Regions from separate parts of the Homo sapiens genome. Here all the other regions are linked to region 5. The links are contacts of gene promoters, found by promoter capture Hi-C in blood cells and fetal thymus (Javierre and others, 2016). All regions are on one chromosome and are shown on one strand. The core of a region is centred on a gene start or on the middle of the fragment in contact, and the rest is flanking DNA. Distances in the headings are between cores, read along the strand shown. Region 1 overlaps INPP4B (inositol polyphosphate-4-phosphatase type II B). Region 2 has its middle 220 kb from the start of IL15. Region 3 overlaps INPP4B (inositol polyphosphate-4-phosphatase type II B). Region 4 overlaps INPP4B (inositol polyphosphate-4-phosphatase type II B). Region 5 holds the start of INPP4B (inositol polyphosphate-4-phosphatase type II B). Region 6 overlaps INPP4B (inositol polyphosphate-4-phosphatase type II B). Region 7 overlaps INPP4B (inositol polyphosphate-4-phosphatase type II B).

The links. The method cuts DNA at HindIII sites, captures the fragments that hold promoters and counts their contacts. A CHiCAGO score of 5 or more calls a contact.
Region 1: a fragment that was not itself captured here is called in contact with the fragment with the promoter of INPP4B in region 5 in 2 of 17 cell types (non-activated CD4 T cells and naive CD8 T cells); the score reaches 7.3 in non-activated CD4 T cells.
Region 2: a fragment that was not itself captured here is called in contact with the fragment with the promoter of INPP4B in region 5 in 2 of 17 cell types (naive CD4 T cells and total CD4 T cells); the score reaches 6.6 in naive CD4 T cells.
Region 3: a contact is called between a fragment that was not itself captured here and the fragment with the promoter of INPP4B in region 5, in 6 of 17 cell types (total CD4 T cells, naive CD4 T cells, naive CD8 T cells and 3 more). The highest score is 12.3, in total CD4 T cells.
Region 4: a fragment that was not itself captured here is called in contact with the fragment with the promoter of INPP4B in region 5 in 2 of 17 cell types (non-activated CD4 T cells and total CD4 T cells); the score reaches 6.9 in non-activated CD4 T cells.
Region 6: a contact is called between a fragment that was not itself captured here and the fragment with the promoter of INPP4B in region 5, in 4 of 17 cell types (naive CD8 T cells, naive CD4 T cells, total CD4 T cells and 1 more). The highest score is 5.8, in naive CD8 T cells.
Region 7: a contact is called between a fragment that was not itself captured here and the fragment with the promoter of INPP4B in region 5, in 7 of 17 cell types (non-activated CD4 T cells, naive CD4 T cells, total CD4 T cells and 4 more). The highest score is 13.4, in non-activated CD4 T cells.

The regions. Positions count from the first base shown.
Region 1 is chr4:142,071,649-142,075,190 of GRCh38, reverse strand. The region is part of intron 25 of INPP4B (inositol polyphosphate-4-phosphatase type II B); the gene reads left to right. Among named protein-coding and RNA genes, the nearest start is that of IL15, 440 kb to the right of the region's middle. The HindIII fragment of the contact is 649 bases long and covers 1,180-1,828 here.
Region 2 is chr4:141,853,566-141,857,260 of GRCh38, reverse strand. No RefSeq gene overlaps it. Among named protein-coding and RNA genes, the nearest start is that of IL15, 220 kb to the right of the region's middle. The HindIII fragment of the contact is 3,976 bases long and covers 1-3,695 here.
Region 3 is chr4:142,088,620-142,092,235 of GRCh38, reverse strand. The region is part of intron 23 of INPP4B (inositol polyphosphate-4-phosphatase type II B); the gene reads left to right. Among named protein-coding and RNA genes, the nearest start is that of IL15, 450 kb to the right of the region's middle. The HindIII fragment of the contact is 1,152 bases long and covers 1,436-2,587 here.
Region 4 is chr4:142,049,148-142,053,145 of GRCh38, reverse strand. The region is part of intron 25 of INPP4B (inositol polyphosphate-4-phosphatase type II B); the gene reads left to right. Among named protein-coding and RNA genes, the nearest start is that of IL15, 410 kb to the right of the region's middle. The HindIII fragment of the contact is 8,711 bases long and covers 1-3,998 here.
Region 5 is chr4:142,843,963-142,847,822 of GRCh38, reverse strand. It overlaps INPP4B (inositol polyphosphate-4-phosphatase type II B), which reads left to right and starts at 1,522. Exons shown (of 26, transcript NM_001101669.3): 1 at 1,522-1,614. All of the region lies in intron 3 of USP38-DT (USP38 divergent transcript), which reads left to right. RefSeq lists an enhancer at 179-765. The HindIII fragment of the contact is 4,051 bases long and covers 1-3,860 here.
Region 6 is chr4:142,026,746-142,030,621 of GRCh38, reverse strand. It overlaps INPP4B (inositol polyphosphate-4-phosphatase type II B), which reads left to right. Exons shown (of 26, transcript NM_001101669.3): 26 at 1,708-3,876. The coding sequence ends at 1,840. Among named protein-coding and RNA genes, the nearest start is that of IL15, 390 kb to the right of the region's middle. The HindIII fragment of the contact is 1,292 bases long and covers 779-2,070 here.
Region 7 is chr4:142,105,951-142,109,543 of GRCh38, reverse strand. It overlaps INPP4B (inositol polyphosphate-4-phosphatase type II B), which reads left to right. Exons shown (of 26, transcript NM_001101669.3): 23 at 1,354-1,451. Among named protein-coding and RNA genes, the nearest start is that of IL15, 470 kb to the right of the region's middle. The HindIII fragment of the contact is 3,289 bases long and covers 333-3,593 here.

The sequences.
Region 1 (3,542 bases), core at 255-2,754, 770 kb after region 5:
GTATATCTACTATGGCAGAGTACCATGCTATACAAATGGAGAAACACATTTGAAATTATAATAGCCACTAATAGTCAATGAGGACTTACTATGCACTAAGAATAACACTAAGCATCCTATATGGGGAAACTGCTAATTCCCACAAGAACAGAATCAAATAAATGAGTCCAGAGCATAGAAAGTGTTCATTATTAAGTGGCTCAGAGGATAAAAAGAATCACTGTGGCCAGGAGGTATCCTGGAGGAGGTAGAATCTGAACTGTGTCTTAAGGATGCATACAATTTAGGTAAGTTGCCAGGAGTTAGGAAAATCTATGTTAGAATTATCTAAGTGGATAAGAGTAGTGCTTATTCATTCATCACACTTGTCAAGTGATTTTGCTTACGTTTAAGTGTTGTAATGTGTGGCACATTGAACAACTTATTTTCTTCAGCTGATATCAAGTTTTTGAGATCTGTATTTATTTTAGATCTAGTTATCTTCTTTTAAACTTATATAATACTCCCTTGTATAAATAGACCACAATTTATCTATTGCCCTAGTTAATTTTAAGTAACAGCAAAACATCAGATGTTTTACCAACATCTGATTACCAACAATAGTGTAATAGACATTCTCACATGTATATCCATGTATATAAACCAATAGGTATAATGGGTGGTAAGGCATTTGTATTTTTAATTTTGCTAGATGCTGCCAGATTGCTTTTCCAAATAGCTATACTAATTTATAAGCCACAAGGCATGCACATGTGTTCCCATTTCTCCACACATCCCAATACTTGTACTGTAAGAGTTTTTAACCATCTGATGGATGAAAAGTGCTATCTTTGTTTAAGTTATATTTTCTCAGTAACACAAAATAAGATTAAATATCTGTCTAAACATTTACTGGCCATCCAGATTCTCACTCATCTCATCTTCTATGTTTCATATAATGGAGTTTTGCACATAATTGCAAATTATGAAAGGTTTCCAGCATTTATAAATAAACCACTGGCCTGTTGTGTTTAAGTTACATTTAGAAGACACTGTTTCAGGAGTGGTGCATTTTTTTAAAAATGTGCTTTATTTTTATTTTTTAAATGAAAGCACAGTGGAATAAGACAGGAGCATCCCTTGGGTTTGGACAGAGAATGCATCATGCTATGACAGGAGCCTGTGACATGATGTGAAGCTTTTTAGCTGGGAGGGGGACAGGGCTCCATTTTAGATAAGAGAAAGACACTTCCAGCTGAGAAACAAAAACCTACAGTTGATTAGAGAGATGATTGATGCCTTTGCACTTGGAAAATGAGGTGTAGCAAGAACTAGTCCAAGAAAGGTCTCATTTTCACTAAAGAAGGCTGAGATGCAGGCAGCCCAAACCTGAATGATCTATGGAGAGCAGTTATGCCAAAACCTAGAGTCTATTTATGCCCCTGGAAGGTTGAGACAAGAGAATCAAGGAAATAATTTTCATTTCACTGCCTAATGATTTTTTCTACAAACACCATCTGCCTTGTCCTAGCCAATGATATCCATGAATTCATATATTCAATATGCCTATTATGTTTGTCCTCATATACAAAGAAATCCAAAACCATTAATTCAGTGAATTATCATTATACTGTCTAAAACTTCTTGTCTTCCATCAGAACACTTGCTATACTCAGGTAAACACTGTCATAAAATGGCTTCAACCCTTCTTCTAACTTGAATATTGGTTATAGTGCTCTAGACACTGGTTCAAGGGAACAAATTGGATGGCTTCACAGGCCAATTTCTAAAGAAAACTGAACTGGGAGGCAACTGTATTTATGAATAAGTACCCAAAATGTTGCAAGCTTTTCTCCTGATCAGAAGACCACAGATGACAGAGAAGTTCAAATGCTAGGCATAATATATTAATGTTCAAACGATAGTGGCCTAAAGCCCTATGAGCAAAAATGCATTATGCATAATTACACTCCATTCTCTTCCATTTAGTGAGCCTATCAGAACTCATATGAGTGTGAATGACATCATTATGGGGATCAAAACTGTAATTTATAGAGCATATCATTTGCAAAATTGGTATTTTATTAGTAACAAATCACATGTGATATCTCTCAAATACCATAGTATTATTTAGGGGTAATCACTGCTCTGAATACCCTAAAATCTAACAATTAGGCCAGCTCAGCAAAGAGCAGGCTGCCCCACTATGGCACATAAAGTGGGTAAGAGGAAGGACTTTGGAATTAGACTGCCTGATTTCTCCACTTCTTAGCAGTGGGAATGAAATTCTAAGAGGCCTTAGGTTCTTTATCTGTAAAATGAAACAACATATATAAAGAAATTGGTAACTGGGTATAGTTCATAGTAAGCAGTTGGTAAAGTCAAACTTATATTGTAGTGATAATTTCACCAGCATCCTCATCTAATAGGGTTGTCATGAGCGCTAAAAGAGACAATGATCACTGATGCACTTAAATAGTACTTGTTACACAGTGAGGATCAGTAAATATTAAATGCTGTCATGGCTATTACTGATGTGTGGTGATGACTGTTATTACTGTCATTATTGGTTCTTTGTCATGGCAGCTTCCTATCACATTGTTTTTACTAAACTGTAAATGGTTGTTATGTCCTCAAACTATATTGAGGAAAGGTAAAAAAAAAAAAAAAAGTCATTTCCACTATTCATATCATCTGTTGCATTGGTTCTCTTTTATTTACTTTTTTTTTTATTATTATCCTTTAAGTTCTGGGGTACATGTGCACAATGTGCAGGTTAGTTACATATGTATACATGTGCCATGTTGGTATGCTGCACCCGTCATTTACATTAGGTATATCTCCTAAGGCTATCCCTCCCACCTCCCCTCACCCCATGACAGGCCCCGATGTGTGATGTTCCCCACCCTGTGTCCAAGTGTTCTCATTGTTCAATTCTCACCTACGAGTGAGAACATGTGGTGTTTGGCTTTCTGTCCTTGCGATAGTTTGCTAAGAATGATGGTTTCCAGCTTCATCCATGTCCCTACAAAGGACATGAACTCATCCTTTTTATGGCTGCATAGTATTCCATGGTGTATATGTGCCACATTTTCTTAATCCAGTCTATCATTGATGGACTTTTGGGTTGGTTCCAAGTCTTTGCTATTGTGAATGGTGCCACAATAAACATATGTGTGCATGTGTCTTTATAGCAGCATGATTTATAATCCTTTGGGTATATACCCAGTAATGGGATGGCTGGGTCAAATGGTATTTCTAGTTCTAGATCCTTGAGGAATCACCACACTGTCTTCCACAATGGTTGAACTAGTTTACAGTCCCACCAATAGTGTAAAGGTGTTCCTATTTCTCCACATTCCCTCCAGCAACTGTTGTTTCCTTACTTTTTAATGATTGCCATTGTAACTGGTGTGAGATGGTATCTCATTGTAGTTTTGATTTGCATTTCTCTGATGGCCAGTGATGATAAGCATTTTTTTCATGTGTCTGTAGCTGCATAAATGTCTTCTTTTGAGAAGTGTCTGTTCATATCCTTTGCCCACTTTTTGATGGGGTTGTTT
Region 2 (3,695 bases), core at 656-3,155, 990 kb after region 5:
GAGGGGCCTCTCAGGCCATGCTGTGTCTGACTCTCCCAGCCTAGCTGAGTCCACTGCACCTCTCTGCATTGCCCTGGGGAGAGAGAAGGGGGTGCAGGTTTCCAAATGGAGTGTGAAAATCAAGAGATACATGTATTTATATGCAGTGGCATCTTAAAAACAAACAATGACAGTATTTGTCTCAGTTTTAGTTTTCTACTATTCCCTTGATTTTTGAATTTCTGCTAAATATTTCTTACCTGTTAGCTTTCTATTAATCAGAACCTGGATTTGTGATTGCGCTTCTCTCTGAAATATGCTGGCCTGATTATACACTGGAATGATGAGAAAAGCAACTTCTAATCATTAGCAATGTAAGAAATTCCTGAAAAATATTCAGTGATCACCTGTGAAATGTGGATGGTGATACTAGTCCTTGAATACATGTAGAAAGTAACAAGCATAATATCAATTTCCTTGCAGGATGAAGCTATCTCACATATGATAAACCTTTCATTTCACAGGCATCATTCTCTGTTTTCTGGTGCAAGGAAAATCAAAGGTCCTCTCATTAGTTTATTAAACTTCAATTCAGTTCCTAGAGATTTAATGAAATAGCCAATGTCTAAATGCTAGATAAGCTACTCATTTTATAAAGTGTTTTCCTACAATATATTATTACATCCCTCCCCTGCTTTTTTTTGTTGTTGTTGTTCAAAACAAGGCAATAGATTAACCTCTCCTCCTTCCTTCTCTGACATCCAACTTGATCTTATTCTATATGCATTAACTGAAAGCTGTTTTTATTATTGAGAAATCCTATGGCAACGTGATATAGGTGTTGCAGATTACATGTCAATTGTGAATACTATGTAGTAACTGCCTCCATTTGTCTTGGTCAGTTTGGGCTGCTTTAACAAAGTACTATAGATTGGGTGGCTCATAAACAACAGAAATTTATTTTTCAGAGTTCAAGAGGCTAGAAGTAGGAGATCAGAGTGCCAGGTTAGGGCACTCTGATGGTAGGGCTTTGGTGAGGGCTTCTGGGTTGCAGACTGCTAACTTCTCATTGCATCCTCACATGATGGGAAGAGGACAAGCTAGCTCTCTGAGTTCTTTTTATAAGGGCTGTAATCCCTTCCATTCTTATAGCCTAATTACTTCCCAAAGGACCCACTATCGGGGGAACCAGCCCCCAATATTTCAGCATACGTTCTTTCTATTTTCCCTAAGTGTCGGTCAGTCTGAGAAATAAAGAGAAAGTGTACAAAGAGAGAAATTTTATAGCTGGGCCTCTGGGGATGCCATCACATATTGGTAGGACAATGATGGCGACCCTGAGCCACAAAACCAGTAAGTTTTTATTAGGGATTTTAGAAGGGGAAGGGATGTACGAACAGGGAGTATGTCACAAGGATCACATGCTTCAAAGGGCAATAAAAGATCACAAGGCAAGGGCAAAATTAGAATTACTGATGAGGGTCCATGTCCTGCTGTGCATGCATTGTCTTGATAAACATCTTAACAGGAAACAGGGTTCGAGAGCAGACAACCAGTCTGACTAGAATTCACCAGGTTGGAATTTCCCAATCCTAGCAAGCCTGAAGGCACTGCAGGAGACCAGGGTGTATTTCAGTCCTTATCTCAACCACATAAGACAGACACTCCCAGAGCAGCCATTCATAGACCTCCCCCCAGGAATGCATTCCTTCCCCAGGTCTATCAATTATTAATATTCCTTGCTAGGAAAAGAATTCAGCGATATTTCTCCTACTCGCACATCTGTCTATAGGTTTTCTACGAGAAGAAAAATATGGCTCTATTCTGCCCAATCCCACAGCAGTCAGACCTTATGGTTATCTCCTTTGTTTCCTGAAAATCGCATTATTCTGTTCTTTTTCAGAGTGCACTGATTTCATGTTGTTAAATACACATGTTTTACAAACGATTTGTACAGTTAATGCAATCATCACAGCGTCCTGAGGTGACATACATACTCAGCTTATGAAGATGATGGGATTAAGAGATTAAAGTAAAGACAGGCATAAGAAATTATAAGAGTATTGATTGGGGAAGTGATAAATGTCCATGAAATCTTCACAATTTATGTTCAGAGATTGCAGTAAAGAAAGGCATAAGAAATTATAAAAGTATTAATATTGGGAACTGATAAATGTCCATGAAATCTTCACAATTTATGTTCTTCTGTGGTGGCTTCAGCCAGTCTCTCCATTCAGGGTCCCTGACTTCCCGCAACAACCCACCATGAGAATTAGATTTCAGCATATAAATTTTGAGGACACACACACATTCAGTTCATTACAACATTATTTCACAGAAAGTTAGGTTTTATGCAATTATAATTCTTATCCTATGGAAGAATCCTTTTCCATTATACTTCATTACCTCAAAGTAGCACTTAAATCTTCCATTGACTTTGATAACAAAGAATACAGTGTGATATGTCCCCCTGAAAAATATATTACTCATTATTTTGTTCCAGTGTTAGTATAGTATGTTTTAATAATATGATTTATAGCACAATTTGGTAATATAATTTATTTATGACAATTAACCAAATGATCTTTTGTCATAAGTTATCAAGGTTAGAATTATGGTTGTATAAATAAACTTTCTGATACAAATTTCTTTTTTAATTATTTCCATATATACTGTTCAGTATACTATGAATATGAAATTGTTTATTATTGTATATTCGTTATCACATTGTTAAGAAAAATTATCCAAAACTTCAAAATAGAGCAAAAGGATGACTGTGTGTCTTCTTAATGTTATTCTGGGCCATTGCCTAACAGATCCACCTAAGAATTCTCTATGATATATCTTTGTTTGAGTTTCTAAGTAACACTGATTAAATCTCAGATTCTGTGAAGTTACATGTTAATTTTTTTCAGAAAGAGATACAAATGATTTCTGGCAGTTAAAAAGATAAGTCCGTAAGTTATGGTTTTATTGCCCTATAAGATATTAACCAGTTTTTTTCTCACCTAGAAAACTTATTTCACACTTTATTTCTCGATTGCTTATTCAAATCTCTGTTCTTCAAGTACTCCTTGCAGCAACTTCATCTGTATTTTGGTTTGCTCTTTTTGAATGAATCAAAAGTGGCAATAGAATTTACCTTTGCTAACTTATTTTTCCCCTTACTCTGATTTTTTGTTTTGTTTCTGGTTCATGTTCAACTTTGGTTCTGGTTTTGGTTTGCACAAAGCCAATACATAGTTATCTATTAGGGACATTGAGCATTTATTATCTAAGAATGTGAGACTATAGGAAATCTGGTTTGTAGTTATTTTGTTTGTACATGTTTCCAGTGTCCTCTGGTCATTCATATACATGTTCAGTGATTCATTAGAAGGTCTCACAGGACTCCAGGCACCTTAATTGTACTCATGGCTATAGTTTACTACAGCTAAGACATAAAGCAGAATTAGCAAGGACAAAAAGCCTCATCAGGAGGGATCTGGAGAGATCTAGGCACAACTTCCAAAGTTCTCCCTCAGGAGGGTGTGCAATACACGCCCCTTCCTCCAGCAATGAACTGTGGTAACATGCACAAAGTGTTTCTGTCTGGGAAAGCCTGCTTTAGACAGAGCGGAAAGTTTTTATTGGAGGTTGGTCATGCAGGTACTCTCTACCTGTGCTACCAGCCGCGATTACCAAAAGCCCAGACTCCCAGAAGGAAAGCAGGTGTT
Region 3 (3,616 bases), core at 762-3,261, 760 kb after region 5:
ATTTTATCCTATGTCTGGTCTTGTGGCTAAAAGATGGCTGTTATGAGCTAACCCCACACTCAACCAAAGGGCTAAGAAGAGGTTCCTTTCCTCTTCAGGAGCTTCACTCAGCTGGAACAGCACAGGCCACTTGCATATCCTTAAAACAGTTGCTAAGATGAGAATTTAGTGCCAACTGGTTTAGATCATGTCTATTCGTGAACTAGTCTTGATTTCAAGGGGTATGGATCACACAAATGGACGTCAGAGTGGGAGTGTGGTGCATCCCATGGCAATTTTGTATCTGCCACTTAGTGTGGGAAGTGAGTAGATTAGGGACTGGGAAGGCAGCCATAATTTCTGATTCATCTTGGAACAGTTTCTGGCCACACAGTTATTTGGCCATAAGAGAATGAAACTATTTGACATCATTAGCATCACAGTTCAGTGAGCTAAAAGGCCACGGTTCCATTCCTGTTTACTTATTAATACCCTGCCTGTGATTCAGGTCGTCAAAGTCAGAGCTCTTCTTGTTGAAGAAACCTATTTGACCTAACAAGGAGGATATAGGCCCTAAAACCTGACTCTCAACTTGATTGTTCTGTTCCATTGGGGAGGTACGAGAATAGTCATGGGGTTTGTGAATGTTTGTGACTGGGGTGTGTGACTGCACGTGTGTGAGGAGACTGTTTCTTACTTTGGATACATTCTGACTTTTACCTGAGAAAGTAGGCTTCCCCTCTGAGGCTGTGAACTCTTTTTTAAGTGCTACTAATATCTTCTGTTTTTCAGAGGTGACACAGAATTTAATAATGTAGCCTTTTCTGCCAAGAGTTTTATTCATTGTTTTCCATTACTGGTCAATGACGCATGACCGGATTCTTGCCCTTATTTTGCAGTTGAGGAAATAGGGACAGAGGGTTAAGCAATTTGCCTAAGACTACACGTCAAAGCAGCAGTAGAATTGGCATTAGAAATCACTTTCCTGGAATCTTGGCTCAGTGCTGTTTTTGAAAAGCAATTATAAAAGTTTCAAACAAAAAAGAACAAATCATACATAGCACACATTTGGGAACCCATTGCTCAGCTTTGGAATTTTCGTAAGAAACAAATATTTACAGATAGGGTAAAAGCTCCCTTTGTACCCCTCCAGGTTACCACCCTTAATCCTCCCCTCCTATGAGAACATCAATATCCTGAATTTGATGTTTTGCATCCTCATACACATTTTACTCTATATTTATGTATCCATAAAAATATGGTACAGTTTTGCACATTTGACTATATTATTGCTGTTGTTTTGTATGAATCTTTCTATAATTTGTGCTTTTTTGCTCAATATTGTTTTTGTGATATATCCATGTTGACACATATGGCATTTGTGTATCCTTTTTACTTATATTACTTTGCATTAATATATTGGTTTATTCTTACTCTTTATGAACATATTAAAGCTTTTTTGCTATTTAAAATTATAAACAATAATGCAATAAACATTCTTGTAACTTTTACCTCTGAATACTTTCTTAAACTCCATTTGAAAAAAAAAAGAATACTATTATGGAGATATGCATAGAGACTCAGCTGCCCTGTCTAAATTTTGTGTTAGAATAATGCAGGACTGAGTAGCAAAAGCAAGACTCTTTGGCTATATTTACATTTGAGGAGACACAGTCTAAGCCTAAAACCAATTCACGTTCTGTGTACACCACAATTTTCAGTTGATACATCAGGATCTATCATTACATCTTGAAACCTCACCTATTAACAAACTGGCTATTATTAATGATACTGCTTTCCTGAACCAGACCTGAATTTCTGTGGTCTGCAGAATTTTTATTGGGTTGAAAAAAAAAAAAATGGCAGCAACCCAAGTATTGGGTTGATAGAGGTGTGCTCTGAATAAAGCAAGTTTTGTCACTATAGAAATAGAAATAGTGGCCTAAAAATGTTAAAAAAAAAATCAAAATTACTTTTCTTGTAAGAAGCACACCATGGGAGAGGAAATGAAATTTCCATGAGACATCATGCCTGTGTATTCTAACACACTCTCTTTATGAGGTGGGAATGGGGAAAGGATGGCCAGGTGCTTGATTTACATTTAGGATTCTTATAGTCTGTTTAAAATGGCTTATTAAAACATTTCCATGTCTATAATGAAACAAAATTATTTTGATAAATCATGCTCTGTTCTGGAGTCTCAGCGTTCTGAAGAATTTGGTCTATTGTGTTAATACTAGAGCTGGTTTTAGTACTACCAATGGTAAAAACATCAGCAGAGATTTGGGAGAAATTACTGGTACAGCAGTTAAGAGACAAAGTTTTAGCCTTGACTCCTCCTCTGACTATGAACTTTGTGAAAAAGTCACTTCAGTCCCAGTCACTTTGGACATGGGGTTGCCCTAACTCAGGGCTTTGCAAATGTTTTATGTTGATCCTAGGAAATGTTAAATAAATGTGGTGTGTTGGAACTACAATTTTTGAAAAATTATGAAATACAAAAATTTCGAGTGCAATGTATACACTAAGGGTAAATATCATTTCATAAGGTTTTTGTTACAGAGGGGTGTGTGTGTATGACTGCTGTGAGATGTTTGTAAAGTAAGCTTTTTTCTTTTTATAAATTGAGGTATTTTTGATAATTAAGGATTAGGTATACCTAAGGCATACAATTTGATGATGTATGATACATATCCATTATTAAATAATTACCATAGTCAAACTAATTACTACTTCCTCACCTCAGATATTTATCACTTTCTCTCTCTCTCTCTCTGTGTGTGTGTGTGTGTGTGTGTGTGTGTGTGTGTGTGTGTGTGGTGAGAACATCTACAATCTACTCTGTTAGCAAATTTCAAATACATAATAAAGTATTGCTAATTAAAATTGCATTGTTATGTATCAGCTCTCCAGATGTGATGTCTTCATCTCATGTTAAAGGAAACTTCTTATTCTGTATTGCTTTCAAAACTGTTTGAAAGCCATTTGTACAAGCCTGACTTCAGAAAGAAGCTCAGGGGCTTTCCAGAAGGGGTTAAGCCCTTGTTTAAAACTCATCAGTTGCCCGCATTTTCTAGGATGAAGCCCAGATTCCCCAGCAGAGCAGAACATGATTCTCCTTCATAAATCTTGCCCCAGGACTAACCACTCCAAGGACATTCTGAACTGCACACTCCGTGTTTCTGCAGTACTGGCTCATGCCTCGTGCCTTTGCTATTTTCCCCTCAGCCTCAAACGCTCTTGGTAGCTGCAAAGCATTATCTTTGCTGGATGCCCTCCAACACCCACCAATTCTTATAGAATTGTCCAGTGCTTCCCTTGCTTCACAAATCTTTACTGAGTTATGTCATAGCCTGCAGTGTACTTTCCTGGATTTAATAATAGTTTAAATATCCATCCCACCCTACTAGACTGTGGAAATTTTGAATTCGGGTCTTTATATCGTAAGAATTTAGGTTCTTCAGGATATAATGAACTGTTCTACCATGAAGCCAAGAAAAAGAATTTAAGTTATTTCTTTTTCTCATGCACATTCTCTGTTCCCCATTGCTCTTAAAATCATCTTATTATTTAAAAGCAATATGTGTTCATTTAAAATGATATGAAAAGGCAGTTGAAGCATTACACTAAGTTGCAC
Region 4 (3,998 bases), core at 100-2,599, 790 kb after region 5:
GTTGGCCGTGTCCTTTCCCCTTCTCTGCCTAATAAACTCCGACATCTCTGTGAAGTCTCTCCCAGACAATACCTCTTCTGTGGTGGTTCATTGTTCCTTTGTCTATGCTTGAATGTCACTGTACAGACATTCATCATGAGATTGATGTTTTAATATTGATTTGGGTATCATTTCCCCCTTTAGTCTTTGAGCCCTGAAGGCTGGAACTTTATCTTTCAGGCATCTAGTACAGTGCCTGGTACATGATGAATGAAGAGTTAGAAATTAAGAGGTAGAATTCGACAAGCAAATATAGAATTGCTGAAGTAGAATAGACTGTGGGCTTATAGAGAGTACCTAGGCCAATTGTCCCAAATACCATTTTAGTAAGTCAAGTTTAAGTAAGTACACACCACTAGTCAGTGAGAGCACCAAGCTCAGAACTCACTTCCCCAGTGTGTCCTGCTACTGTTTTTTCTTTGCATAAATATGGTTCCCATTTGCCAAATCCCATCATTTTTAATGCCCAAATGGGAAAAAAGGCTTACATCTCATCAACAAAGTTCTTACCCTTGTTAAAAAGCTCTAAAATGACTATACAAAAATCTGGGGGAAATTATTTGTACATGTCTTGTCTGTTGGAAATGCTTTATGTCTGTAAGTGTTTCCAAAAGTGTAATATACAATACTTATTTAGCACAGCAAAATTGATGTCATGTTTTTTAGAAATACATCTGAAGAATAATAAACACGGTTTAACACAAAAGAATATGGGTTATACTTCAGGTAGCAATTTTTGGGCAAATTTTAAGTAATTCTTAGGGAATAAATAAGCTAGTTTAATAAAAAGAGCAATAGCATTTCTCTTTAGAAATCATTAGGCATGTTAATTTATTCTACATCTAATCTCTTTAATTTTCATTATCTAATTTATAATACATGGAGTATTTAAAGTTATTAAAGGTATAAATATTTGGACAATTTGTGAGGTCATTTTGTAAATAGTTGAAAGGTATTTAAATATAATGGTAGTCTGATAAAAATAGTTTATTCTTGATCAAAAAAGACCTGAGTGTTGGTTCTAAGGAAGTCAGAACATTTTATTTCAGTCTAATGTGTCATTTTATACTTTTTGCAAAGTAAAACCATCAAAGAAAAATGAAGAGATGAGAACGGTGTTATTACCTTTACTTATAACTATAAGGAATCCACATTGCTTTCTTGTAATGAGAGGTTCTGGACCCACAGATTTGTAGGAGAACCCTAGATTTTATCCTTTACCAAGTGAAAAGAAACTGAAACATTTATTTAGGTTAAAAATCAAAACAAAATGATATCTAAATGTATGCACACAAGAATAATACACTTTCGTAAGAATTATTTAGACAGTTGAATTAATTTTCTACTTAGCTTTGTGACCCATCACGATTGTGGTATGTGGATATCAATTTAGGTAAATGGTTTATTTTCTAATTAGTTGGTGGCTTTAAATGTCTTTTAAAACCCTTGTAGAGCAACGCTGATGTTAAATGTGTGTACCAAGAGAAAATTATTTTTAATCTATATCTCCTTCGAATATCACAACATACATTATATGTAAGACTTTTTTATGTATTTACAGTAAAGTGAATAAAAAATAGATGTACATTTCAAAAACATAATTATAAAGCAAAAACCGATGAAACCACCACCCAAGTCCAAGAAATAGCATGTTGCTAGCTCCCAGAAGTCTCACTTAGATATTAAAGTCTTAGGAAAACTCTACCATAAAAGAACTTAACTTTTGTTAACCCAGCATCTAGTATTCTATAACAATACTTACGGAATACTGTATAGGAAAGTCTGTCTTAGAAAACTAGGCAATTTAAGCACTATGAATTTTAGCCAGTAGATGATAAAGTAAAGGTATTATGTTCAAAACAATGTTTAATGAAAGTATTCAATGTGTTCTTGGCTGTAGTATCTTTTTGAGGATTAATGTTCTTTTATAAATATGTGCTTGTTTGTGGAGGAATAGAGGGAGAAGAGAGAAACCTATATATTTATTTTAACTTATACAAATATGCAACTTCTCTAGTTTACATATCTCAACACAGAGGAACATGTATTATACTCAATCAGGTAGCAATTTCTAGAGAAATTTTAAAAAATTCCTAGGGAATAAATAAGTTTGGAAGTCATTATGTATGTTAATAATTTATTCTGCAGATAATCTCTTTAATAATTATCTGTATGTAATTAAATCTATGGGTTCCTCATCAGCTGATGGGTGGTTGGTTGTATCTGTGGACCCAGAGGGCTGGCTGTAAGAGACTTGAGCATCTCCAGATTTTGTTATCCATGGTGGTCCATCCTGGAGCCAATCCACCTGTAGGTACCAAGGGATGATGGTATTTAACATATGCCAGACATGCTAAAGAAAGATTCTGTACATGTTCATGTTTGTTTGTGTGTATACAAATTTATCATCCCTATTTTAAATATTACAAAACGAATATTTACCAAAGTATAGCTCATCTAAATAGCACAGGTAGGAAGAGAATAAGCCCGATTCAGACCTAGGATTGTCTGAGTCCCCACTAAATAAGCACTACATTATAAGCCTGTATATAATGGAGTTGAGAATCCCATAATATATATAGAATCACTATGTGCTGTGTACAGTGCTATCTACTGAAAATTTCTAAAAACCTGATATTTATAGAATTATAAGAATCCACTAGCTAATAATCTTTTTTGTTTTTAATTATTCTTTTCATTGAAATACTTCTTATTAGAAAAATGTTAAAGTAATGAGGCAGCTAATTCTTCTTTTACCAGAATGACATCCTTTTGGTTACAATCCCCTAAAACAAAAGGATAAGAAACCTGGTAAATTTTAGCTACAGATTTCTACATAAGCATGTTTTAGATAACTATTAGATTAAGTTTGGAATCTCATTTGTACTAAGTCAATTCTTCCCTATCCCCTAGCCAACTTCTTGGCAGCAGTTTTCAGTGAATTATTTGCTTGTATTTAGAAAAAATGAATTCAAAAAATAAAATAAAACTATTTGAGCCATGTGATGCGGGAGCCTAACAATAGTAATTAATTCATCACCTGATGAAAAGTCATAAAATCAGCTTCCAACATCATCAATGGTATTTTACGTGGATAAGAACATAGGCCTTTAGTTGATTGTTTTGTGATTTTGAGTAATGAGATATGGTGTCTGAATTGCCTTTCATATTTCTTTCTACTTTGTATTTTAATGTATCTTACAAATTGCCATTTATTAATTTTGTCACAAAATGAATTTCTGCTTATTGATAGATTCATCTTTCTGGAAAGAAATACATTTAGTGCCCACCACATAATGACAAAACTCACATTTTAGTCAAGTGTATCTATTGTACCAAGTCTTGAGTACCAATCATAGATTATATGGTTAGTTTTATTTCTTATATTTCTTCATTCTTTTTTTCTTCCTACAGAATTTGACATACACAACATATACTTCTTGATGCAGTCACAACTACTTATTATTGTTGCTTTTTTAAATCTATTTTCTTCCTATCCCTTTACAGTTTTACTTCCAAACCACCAGTCCGCTTAACCTATACAGTCATAGATAACTACTTGCTTGTCAAAGCCATTGATGTAAAAAACAACCTTATTTGTATTAGATTTCTATTTCTCAGCTTGAGTCATAAATAGACCTCTTTAAGGAAAAGTAATTATTACATAACTTCTTTCAGGCATAAATTTTCTTTATTATGTTTCTTGTAGATATACAAACATAAAACCAGACATAAACTTCCTATGTCTTTAGTTTTCATGCAACTATAAGCCAAAACAAATGTACAAATTTACATAGAACAAAACCAACAAACTTTGAACTAGCAGAATTCATATACTTTGACATGATACTCTTTTGCTGAAAGTAAAATACATGTAACAACAGGTCAGATTGCCTGTTTTCTGTGCTATATGATGATAGGATTCTTCCATTACATTCTTCCATTACATTTTTTTTAAT
Region 5 (3,860 bases), core at 273-2,772:
ACAAAACAAAACAAACCCAAAGTCCCTGTCCTCATTGGCAAGGCTTATAATGTGGTGGTCAAAGGTTTGAGGAGTGAAAGGATGCCTAGATGCGGGCAGTGACAGCAGGGGTGACAGCTGGGGGTACATACAGCTTCCTGGTTTGTGAAACTGTTAAGCCCCGACTTAACCCAAATTGATTTCACTGTCCTGACTTTGAGATTCCAGTCTTTTTGCATGGCAAATGTAACACTTGTGTACAAGCATTCGTACACTGCTTTACTTAAAATGTGATTTTAAAGCGCCCTCAGGGAGAAGGGCTGGGGTGTCTTGATGGGCTGGCTCTGGGCACCTTTACCTTTGAACGGCTCCATCAAAACCTTTCCGAGAGAGCCGCCAGGTGGCACCTGTAAAGCGCAGATGGGGAGAGTCATTTGCCCCACACCCTACACAGCCCGGAATAACCAGGGTGCGTGCTTTCCCCTGTGGGCTTGTTAGGGGCTAGGAAGTGGGGGAGTTTTAGTCTCCGTCCAGACTGCTTGCTTACATACCCCGTTTTCCTGATACCCCAACACATTCAGGGCGGATTTGTCCCCACGCACCCGGGATATCAAAGGCATGTCATACGCTAGTTGGGAGCATCTCGGCCTCAGTCACCCGCCGCGACGTGGGAACTGGCGGTGGGTGGCCGAGGGCTGCTCTAAGCTGGTCTCCTCAGCCCGACCTCTGCCCGGGGCAAGGGGGAGGAGGGGCAAGAGACAGGGGTCCCAGCGCGGCTGCAGACTGGGGTCCAGCAGGCGTGAATGGATGCCTAGACGCAGGCAGTGACAGCAGGGATCCCAAGCCCCTTCCAAAAACCCTCGGTCTAGGGACTGCGCTGCCATAGGCCGGGGTCTGGGGCGCTTTCTTCCTCCCGCGGGTTCTTTCTCTGTGGTTTCTCCTGCCCCCGCAGCAGCGTGGCGGCCTCGGGTCCCCCCTCGTCGCGGTAGCGGTGATCCCACAGCCCAGTCTGGGTGGGCGACCCAGCGGGCAGAGGGGCCGCAGAAAGGGGTCGGGGTACGGGGTGTGAGCACACGGAGCCAGCGTGGTAATTTCGGGGTGGGCAGCCGGGCCACCATCTCCGCTCTATCAGTAGCGGGAAGCGAGCAGCGCCAGTTGCGCGACTGTCGCTGCCACGGCCGCCTCTACTCGGTCGCTGGTGACATTGGGAGGAGACCGCTTGGAGAGAGCAGAGGAGGAGGAAGAGGAGCGGGGAGGGTGGGGGTTGGGGTGGAAGAAAGTAGCAATTGTGCCAGGGGGCGTGTGAGCAGCCGGAGAGCCAGCCGCGCTGGTGACAACTTCTCTGGGGCGCGCGCGGGGCTGGTAGGCGAGGAGCGAGCAGGGAGCGCGGCCGAAGCCAGAGGCTGGGGGAGCTGCTGGAGCCTCGCGAAGCCGCGGCCGGCGCCCTGCGCCGTCGCCGCCGCCTGCTAGTTTCCTCCGGGTTCTCAGCCCCGGGTACTGAGGCTTCGGTCTATAAATAGCAGGTTACAGCTCCTCCTGGGCGCGCACACGCTCACACGCTCGCAAGCGAACGCAGGAAAGTCAGGCTAAAAGTGTCTGCTGCTGCTGCCGCCCCCCACTCCGCCTCCGGGAGAGGTAATTACCCGCCTGGGATCCTAGGGCTCGGTGGGGGAATTTTGCAGGGTGGGGTGGTTGATGGTGGGTAATCCGGGAGGCGAGGGAGCGTGTCTGAGAGCGTGGCGGCACGTCTTGGAGGGGGGAGCCTGTCTGTTTTGCATCAAGTTTCTCCGTCTTGCAGCCTCCATCACCCCTCCAGCTCTTTAGCTTAAAGGGTGGGGTGGGCTGTCTCTCCTCGGCTGCTGGGGTACCCCTGTCACCGCGCCTACCCTCTCGCCGAGCGCCCCTCTGCCCGGCGCGCGCGCGTTTTCGCATTCTCACTCACACACGCACACTCTCCGGGCCCCCGTGGAACTCTGAGCTCTGGCCTCGCTGACCTTCCAAGGCTGCGCCCACCTGCGCTGTCCCTGAGAGACGCTGAGGTTGGCCCGGGCACTCGCTCTCACTTCCAATCCTGATGATCGCAAGCTGCCGCCGCCGCCGCCGCCGCCGCCGCCGGCCTGGGAAGAAGTCCTTAAGGAATAGAGGCAGTGGTGGGGAGTGAGGGTGACTGATGTTGGTGGTCCCGGTTGCCTTGTTTTTTGTTTTAAAAATAAAGAGCCCATCTCCTTGACCACCTTCATCCCACCCTCAACAACTCATTCTGGCAGAGAAGCCTGGCATGTCTTCTCTCGGCCATCAGGCAGCATCTCTTGTCCTTCCCCAAAGAGGTCTCGCTGAGAGGTTAGGGCCTTGGCGCAAGAGTGCCTGGGTTTGGACGGGGGAGGTCATTGTTTCGGGTCTGAGAACTATGCTGCAGGCTCCTCAAGCTCTCTGGCGCTCAGGCAGGGCCCAGGGCCGGGGAATGTCTGGGAGCCTGGTTCCTGAATGTAGTTTCAGGCTGGTAGCTGATATGAAGATGAGGATGCTAGAACCACATATACCTGTTTTTCCCCCTCCCCACGCTTCTGAATTCTCCCTTCCTTGGGGGCAGTAGTTTCTGCTCCTGGGGAGTCGGTGGAGAGGGGCCCAGCAGTTTCTCTTTGGGGACAAGAGGGTGAGGAAGCACATATTGATTAGGTTGTTGCTGCTGCTGCACAAAACTTACTGGAAAAACCCGGTAGGGTTTTCTATTACTCTTGTTTTAAGGATGTAAATTTACTCCTTTTCCTCTTTTATCTTCTCCCTAACCAGAACTAGTTTTCCTTTCTCTTTCTGGAATGTTATTTGAGGTCATTATATTTTATGACTCCAGATGTTACATTTTGCATATCTCCTTCCTGTCAGTATGACAGACAGAACTTGTTTATAAAGGTGTGGCTCTGTAAGTAAAAGCCTAAAGACAGAGGATAAATTCATCTTCTCTCTCTCAAGATGAGCTCCAGATAGTTCTTTTATAGGTGTACAACTACATTTCAAAGACCTTGCTTGAAAAAGGACTTTTCTTAATGAGTTCTGGACCAGAAATGGTAGTAATCTGACTCAATGATAAAGCAGCGCATAAGGTGCAAGGAATCATCAACAGGGCAGCTGGCTGATGATGTGTAAGAAGTTGAGTAAAGCAAGGACTGGGCAAGTGGGCATTGTCAGTTCACATACTATGCACAGAAATGCATCCTCTCCTTTACGCATTGATGCACATACATGCATTATGTGTTCCTTTGTGATATAATCCTGTAAAGCATTGATAGGAAATGATCAATAGTTTTGTGAAAGGTACATGGGCATTGAAGGTTGAACCTCGTGAATTTGTAGTAATGTAAAATGCTATTGCAAAATGGATTGCTTTTTCAGTGTATTTCCTTAAAATGTGATGTAGAAGATTGTCCTTGAAAGGTTATGAAATGTGTGTGTGAAGATAGGCTAAATGCTCAGTGACATTAAGAAACATGTTTGCAGATTGAAATACTGCTCTTATTCTAGGAGAGTATTCTCTTTGATTAAGCAAATCAATATTTATTTGTGATAAAATAATGATCACTATGATGTGCATATTTATAACTCAAATTTGCTTTTGACTCTTTATAAAGTGTAAGAACAACCAGATAGACCATTTAGTCTTGTCCCTCTATTTAAAGTAGCATGCAGTCAAAGGTATAGGCAGAAAATACTTTTAAAATGTTGTGTTTGAGCTTCAGTTTGGGGCTGCAAATTGAATGACTTCATGTCTCATAAGATTTTTGTCAAAATACTAAATCGCTCTACTATCATAGACCATCAGTTAAACTTGATTATAAAATAATGCTATTATATTTTAGTTGTGTGAAATGGAAAATCATTAAGCT
Region 6 (3,876 bases), core at 175-2,674, 820 kb after region 5:
GATTTGGTGCTGTTATGCTTATTTGATTCTTCCTTGCACATATGTAATCAACCCATGTGAATATCATTACAGTGTTTCTCTCTTCCTTCTTGCACAAAGAGCTAAAGGAATCTCCTGTTTTAATTCCTTTGCCCATGTAGTACAATGAGAAAACAATACACAAGATGCATTTGGGGAAATTTACCATAAGATTTCATCTGAAAGAGTTGTGTTATGTAAGATAATGCATTGTATTTCAGAATATTTAAGGCTGAATTTTTTTTACTGTGTGAACTCTATACTATTTTCTTTTCCCCCCCAACTTCCCCTCATTTAACAGCAGACAAACCCAGGGAGCACTGAATGAATCCGATGATCCTGAAACAGGCTGTCTAACTGATAACAAGCCAACTTCTCGACACTTCTATCCTGTCGCCTTGCTGCTTGTCAGCTCACACCTGCTAGTTGTGTGGCTTATTTTAAGTCTGGCGTTACTCTTAGCCAAATACCAATAAGTTTTATGTTGTATTCCTTTTTCTTTTCTACAAATGACAATGAACTTTAAATTATGGGGACAATGCTGTAATATTTTTACATTTTCAAATTCACAGAATTTAAAAAATGTTAAATTGTGTTTAGTTTGTTTTTCCTAAAATCTAAAAAACAAAAAGTACTATGCATTAGGTGGATTATTTTGCTCTTTTGTTCATGGAAAGGTGTTTCCCACTGTTAACTAGCTCAAGAAGAATTTTTAAATTACTGTCTTTGGAATAAGACAAAGAACAGAATCCTGAAAGCTTGAAGTTCTGAACCTCCTGTCCTCATCCCACTAAATTTATTAAAGAAATTAAGACTGAAATTTGCACAAACACTGAAACCCTGAGACAAGTTCTAGAGATGTGGGAGGTTGCAGACTTTATTTCCACTGTGCTAATATCATAGATGCCATCTGCTGATAGAAATTTTTTTTAACCTGTTTTACTTCTTTGCTGCAATTAACTCTTTTCTGTCAAGTAACTTTATGGAGAGAATGGCTATTTATGTTTTGTAATTAAATTACCTGTTTGTATCTCTTGTTTGGGTTGATTTGGCTTTCAGAGGACTTTTCTATTCTTTTTAACAAGGTCTTGTTTGTGTCTTGATGTACCATTCCCAGCACTTGTGACTTTTGTACTGTCCGTGGACAAGCACTCTTCCTTTATAAAGCTGAGACTTGGCCCAGGCTGTTCAGAAAGCCATTTTCTCTCTTCCTTGCACAGCTAAAATAATAAAATAGAGATGAAATTTTTCTTTAAAAATCTATAGGGCCAGACTTAATAAATTAAATGCCTTATTTCTAGAACCTGCATCCTTAGGGCTACATATAGATTTTAATGTGTTTTAAAGAGACTGAGAAATTAATTTGTGGAAATGTTATAAAAAGGCAGATATATTTATGAAACTAAAGTGGAGCTGTATTGTGGAGCAAATTATATTTAAAGAGTTTATTAAATTTTAAATGTTAAGAGTAAAGAGACTTAAGTCATCTCTTTCAGAGGGCAATAATGGTATTGGGCCTGGCCTAGGATTTAATTTTGTAAGATGTATCATCACTTGTGGAAAAAAAAAATGTAGAGTTGAATCTTTGTTATTTTTACTTGGATGGTTGCTGCAACTCTGCATTAAACAAATAAAGCATATTTATTTATTCTGTGTTTCATGAAGTTGTACTTTTTCCCCTTTCACCAGAGAAGGATGCCGCATAGAGAATGTACTGAAGAATATCAAATGCAGAAAGTATGCTTTCAACATGCTACAGCTGATGGCTTTCCCCAAGTACTACAGACCTCCAGAGGGGACTTATGGAAAAGCTGACACCTAAGTTTACCAACATGTTAATAAACAGGAACACAAATACATTTCAGTTGGATAATCTTCACCTTGGTCTTTTTTGTTTGTTTTTATTGTCATGAATTTGTGGTGGGGGAGATGATCACAGATGTTTCCCAAAATCTAGGAACTACTTCAATTCATCATCAGCATATTGCTCTGAAAGAAATCCATTTTAAAAAATCTTACATGATTCAGTACTGTCATTTCTAGTTCTAAGCTTCTATGTGTTGAGCCTAGCTGATTGAGATTGGTTCACAAAGTGTAAATTTCATTCATGAGTATTTAAATGTTTCTGAGGAAACATGGATCATTTCAATAGGACTAGGGGTGATTCACAGAGCACCACTCTCCAACCAAATGGAAGAGAGGAGAGGGGGAAAAGGAACATATTTTTTTTGTGATACAACTTAATAGCCTATGAGAACACAGTCAACCTGAGAATCAATGTAAGGGATTTAAAAAAAATGTGTAGCCACTCAATTAGGTAGAGTTAACTCATGATCTGGAATACTGAGGCAGTTTGCAGGTATGTTCCACAATGATCTCTATCATCCAGTCAAGGTGTGACTCCTCCCTTGCAACAGGCATATGCATGGAGTGAGTAAAGTGGTCAACAGACCTTTCAAAACCATGGCATCTTTTCAGAACTCTGACTTGGGTTGTGTGATCTAGCTGTGAATGTAGCAATATAGAACGTTTAATAGAATGATAAGCAAAACACTGCAATGATCTAAAATTACAAATAAAATAAAAATGAACAACATTTTGATACCCAAAATGAAAATTCCCATCAGCCTGAACTTTATGTTGTGAAGTTCATGAATGTCAGTGAGGTATCTCTGAGATGTTTCTTAGCAGTCATCCTGGTGTAAGCATGCAGTTATGGCATAGGTTTGTGTGTGTTAATAAGCCTTTAAAACATATGCAACCACAACAAATGATAAAGTAAAACAATTATTTTCTGTTGCCCTGAATATCAAACTTGCCCTTGCCCTTACTCAGCAAAATAACATTTATAAGTTTTCCAAAATCCCAAAGTAGAAGTTTCCTTAAAAAAATCATCTTGTATAATACCAGTATTCAAACATGGGTAAGGTTAATCACCCCCAATCACTCAGGAGATAGTTGCAGAATTTGAATTACAATCTCTTCTTACTTTCCTAGCCTGTGGCTTGTCACTTCTCCAAATTGCCATGCTAAATATGCATGAAAATTGAGGGAGAATGCTAGTTAAAAAGAAATTAGGATTTATCACTGGAATTGAAACTAAGAGTACAAAAGTCTGAACGAATGAAACTTTTCTCCAAATTTTACAAATTCTTGTTCCTTTCTCATTAGAAGAGCATGCTATCCAAAGCATAAATCTCCCTTGAAAATAACAGAGGCTTCTTAAGCCCTCTCTTAGCTATGATCAATGGATGATATTATGCTTCCCATAGCTAATGTGATAGCTCCTTGCCTAGGATTCCTGTTGAAATAAGGATTCTAGCCCCATGTTAAGTTTTTCAAATTACTACAAATTTTAGATAAGCATTTGGAGCTTTTTATACTAGAATTATCAATTTTTTATTTTAGCTAATTACCTGTGGGCATTATACTTGAGGCAGGTACCAAACTACTTACAGCCTTTTTAATGAAAATGTGCTGTGTACTTTGAATCCATTCATAGACAAAATTACCTTGATGTTCTCTTAACTCATTCTTTATTTTAGTGATTAAATACAACCTTTGAGTTGTTCAATATCATTTGAAAATGGTAGGATTTGTGGTTATTTTCATTACCCTATTAGATTTAAGATAGGCTGGGATGACAGAGGCCTCCTTGAATAGCTATGAAGCCTCATTCAGCATATCAAATGGTAGTCTGAGTTCTAAGAAACCTTAAGTAATTTATCATTCTGTAAATACTCTTATAAGCAATAATTTTTATTTGTATTTTTGAAAACAAACTACTTAAATATGGAAAAATATTAACTGGAAAGCCAGCAGTAGGGTTTTCTATTTTTAAAAGACATTTCAAGGATT
Region 7 (3,593 bases), core at 728-3,227, 740 kb after region 5:
AGGGAGGAGAGTGTAACTACATTCCCACAAGAGGTTTTGGAAGCCTTTGTGGAAACTTAGATGCTAAACTAGGGAGACTATAAGACATCGTCCTTTCAGGGAGGAGAGAAGCATTGAAGTTCAGTGAGTTGATATGATGAAATATAGGTTAGATTAATTTTTCCAACATTTCATTTATTGCATGGTGCAATGTATGGTATGTAGTTGATGTTAAATATTTTTTGTATAGATGAATTCATTTTTCATTGAGACTGAATGATCTGACAAGGGTCCAGAAAGTAAACTGGAAGTGAAAGAGACTAGGGGCATAGTTCTGTGGTATTTGGGAAGCTTTAGGAGAGTCTAAACTGGATATGATTAAATATCTTAATATATAATGACAGTGGTTGAGAAAAAAAAAAAAGGAAGGGTTACCAGAGATAGGAAAAGACTGAGGAATAGTGGGTAAGGTGAGGAAAAGAGGAAATCCAAAATGATGCCTAGATTTTGAACCTGAATTAATGCCAAAATATTGGGGACATGCTTAGCAATGGTTCAAAGGAGGAAGCAGTTTTAGTTTTGGGTTATGTTATATTTGAAGTGGAGTTGGAAAATGCACACTGAAATTTTCTATTCACACCTAGAAATAGAGATTTTGATGAAGATACATATTGGAAGCCATTTACATAGCATCCTTTTATAGGGAGACAAGTGGGTTTTACCTTTGAACTTGGGAAATTCTCAAAGATAACACAAGGTTAGTGACACACTGGTAGACAGGTTTGTCTTGACACCTCTTGGTGGAAGACTACGTGTACAGAACCATTTGACTTCATGGTATGAACGAAAAAAATGTCGGCAGAAATGATCTACTGTCTGGGAAATCTGGCTCTACGTGTGCCTACAGCAGTTGATAGTGTGGGCAAGACTGCGTGCAGCCCAGTGTCCAGTGCTGGTCTTCTGGTCCCCTCCCTCAGCTGCCACGAGTGAAATGGATGGTTGGATAGATAGTAAGAAAAGTTTTTTAAAACACATACAGGGATGTAGCCCTGCCACAGAGGTGTGGAGTAGGATAGGGAAGCTAATATCAATTATGTCCATGCACAGAGACTGTTGTTTTATACATGGTATTTTATCTAGGTTCACATTTGATGATTGTGAGGATATTTGAGGTGTTAGAAGCGATTAGTGAAATCAGGGCCAGTGGAGATTGGAATATGTTTGAAATCACCATTGTGAATTGTAGCTTGAAAAATGAGACAGACTCTTTCCTTAGGAAATTATTTTCTAATCTATTTAAAAAGGAAAGGTAAAATGTGTTACTTTTTGGTACCGTTTTATAACCCACAGCTGTTTTCTTTTTTCTGTTTGTAGGTTTGGAGATGTCTCTTTGCAAGAAAGTATTAATCAGGAAAACTTCGAACTTCTACAAGAATATTACAAGATATTTATGGAAAAGATGCCTCCTGATTGTAAGTATGTGAGTTAGAGAAGACAGCAATAATAGCTTCTTGATTATAAATCTTTAGAAGAGGTCAGACATAGAGGTCAGTGGACTACAGAAGCAGGGGTAGGGATGTGAGAGTGATTTTGAAATTATCTGATCCAAAAAGACTGATTGCCAAGGTAGCATGGCCAACACCTGCATCATTCTCTTGATTGCCTTCTTGAATGTGTCCTGCTGTTCATTCTGAGACATTAATTTCATTGCCACTGGAAAATGCCAAATAATAAAAATATGGACCTTATAATTAGACATTTTAATTAGTCTGATAAAAATTTTGTATAATTCTTAACCATATAAAAGACTTTACTAAAGATTTAAGTCTCCATTTATAAGCAACATCAGACATAGGACACACATGCAGGAGAACATCAGATATAATACCAGTTGAACAAAATAATATTAAGTCAATGTGAATGAGGGAACTAACTTATTAAATATATGTATTGCAATATTTTATGCAAAAAAAGTTAAGGCACCCAAGCCTTTAAAAATGTGTTTTACACATTTGGAATTTGTTTTGGAGGGGGCCATTGTCCAATTCTACATTTCTTTTCCCCATCGTATTAAGCACATAACATTTGAGCAGTCCAAAATCAGAGAGCTGGGAATGTATTTGGAATTCATCTATAAATAGTATAAATATGTTGAGATATTCACAATGATAAGAAGCTAAGTTTTAATAAAGTAGGAAAATTATAATATTTTAACCAAAAACTGTAATCAAAGTCTACTCGTTACTATTTGTTCTGTAATCATGAACAATTTGCTCACTGATTTATATTCTGTTATTTAGTGTGAAATAGCTCAGGTGGCAGAGTGTTTATGTCTTCATAACCTAATGAATGTGGTATCCAAATATTGCAGTGGCATATGCGTGCCCATGTGTGGATAGTTAAAAATGTCACTTGCAGATTTTATATTATGATTTATATTATTTTATGTCAAATCAAATATTATTTTTTGCCAAAATGAATTTAAGTACATGGAGATTCTTTGGTAGCAAGCATACTTTAAGTATTAAATTTGTTAATTACCTGAAAAGTTAATAATGTAAGTAAAACTATTTTTCTTTAGCAATTAATGAAAAAAAAGAGTTTATTATAACTTGAATGTTAATTATTTTTTAACAAATTACTTACAATTTGGAAAAAAAGTCTCAGAATTTTTGTCAGTAGCTTGATAAAAATTATATTTCTTATATTAATTCTTGAAAAGTATATGTGGTCCCCAGGCCAGCGGCATCAGCATCACCAGGAAACTTGTCAGCAATGCAAATTCGCAGGCCACACTGTGAATCTACTAAACTCTCCCCGAGTCTGTGTTTTAATAGGCCTTTGAGGTGGCTTCTGATTCATGCTAATGTTTGAGAACTAATAATATGCCATCCTTACTCAAAATATATATTACAAAGTAGATTGTTGGCAAAGTCTGTGAGGACTTTCAGTGCTATACTTAAAACAATCATATTGCTAAAGAAATATGTATAGGTACTGTTGAAATACAAAATAATTCTATATTCAAGTAACTTAAACTCTTCATAGGAATATAAGTTTAAAAAATTTTAGCCCGGGCAACATGGTGAAACCCCATCTCTACAGAAAATACAAAAATTAGCCGGGCATGGTGGTATGTGTCTGTGATCCCAGCTACTCAGGACGCTGAGGGGTGGGAGTATGGCTTGAGCCCGGGAGACAGAAGTTGCAGTGAGCCAAGATTGTGCCACTGCACTCCAGCCTGGGTGACATAGTGAGACTCTGTCTCAAAATAACAACAACAACAACATGTGATTCTATATATTGCCAATTAAATATAAACAAGTGTTTTTCAAAACATGTAAATATATTTCTCTCCTTGCAAACAAGACGGAATTTTGTATAAAACCAATTGCATTTCATTGCTTACACAGTTGTCTGAACATACTGGATTGTTTTCTGATATTTTGTTTCCTGTATTTTTGAGACAATTCTATTTGACACAGAATGGAGTTGTAGTATGGCTGTGGTTGTGCTCCATAACAAAAGTACAACTCCAATCTATACAATTATGATGACATATGGGTTTATTCCTCCTGTAGACATATTGCAAGCCAAAGAATGATTTGAGTTCT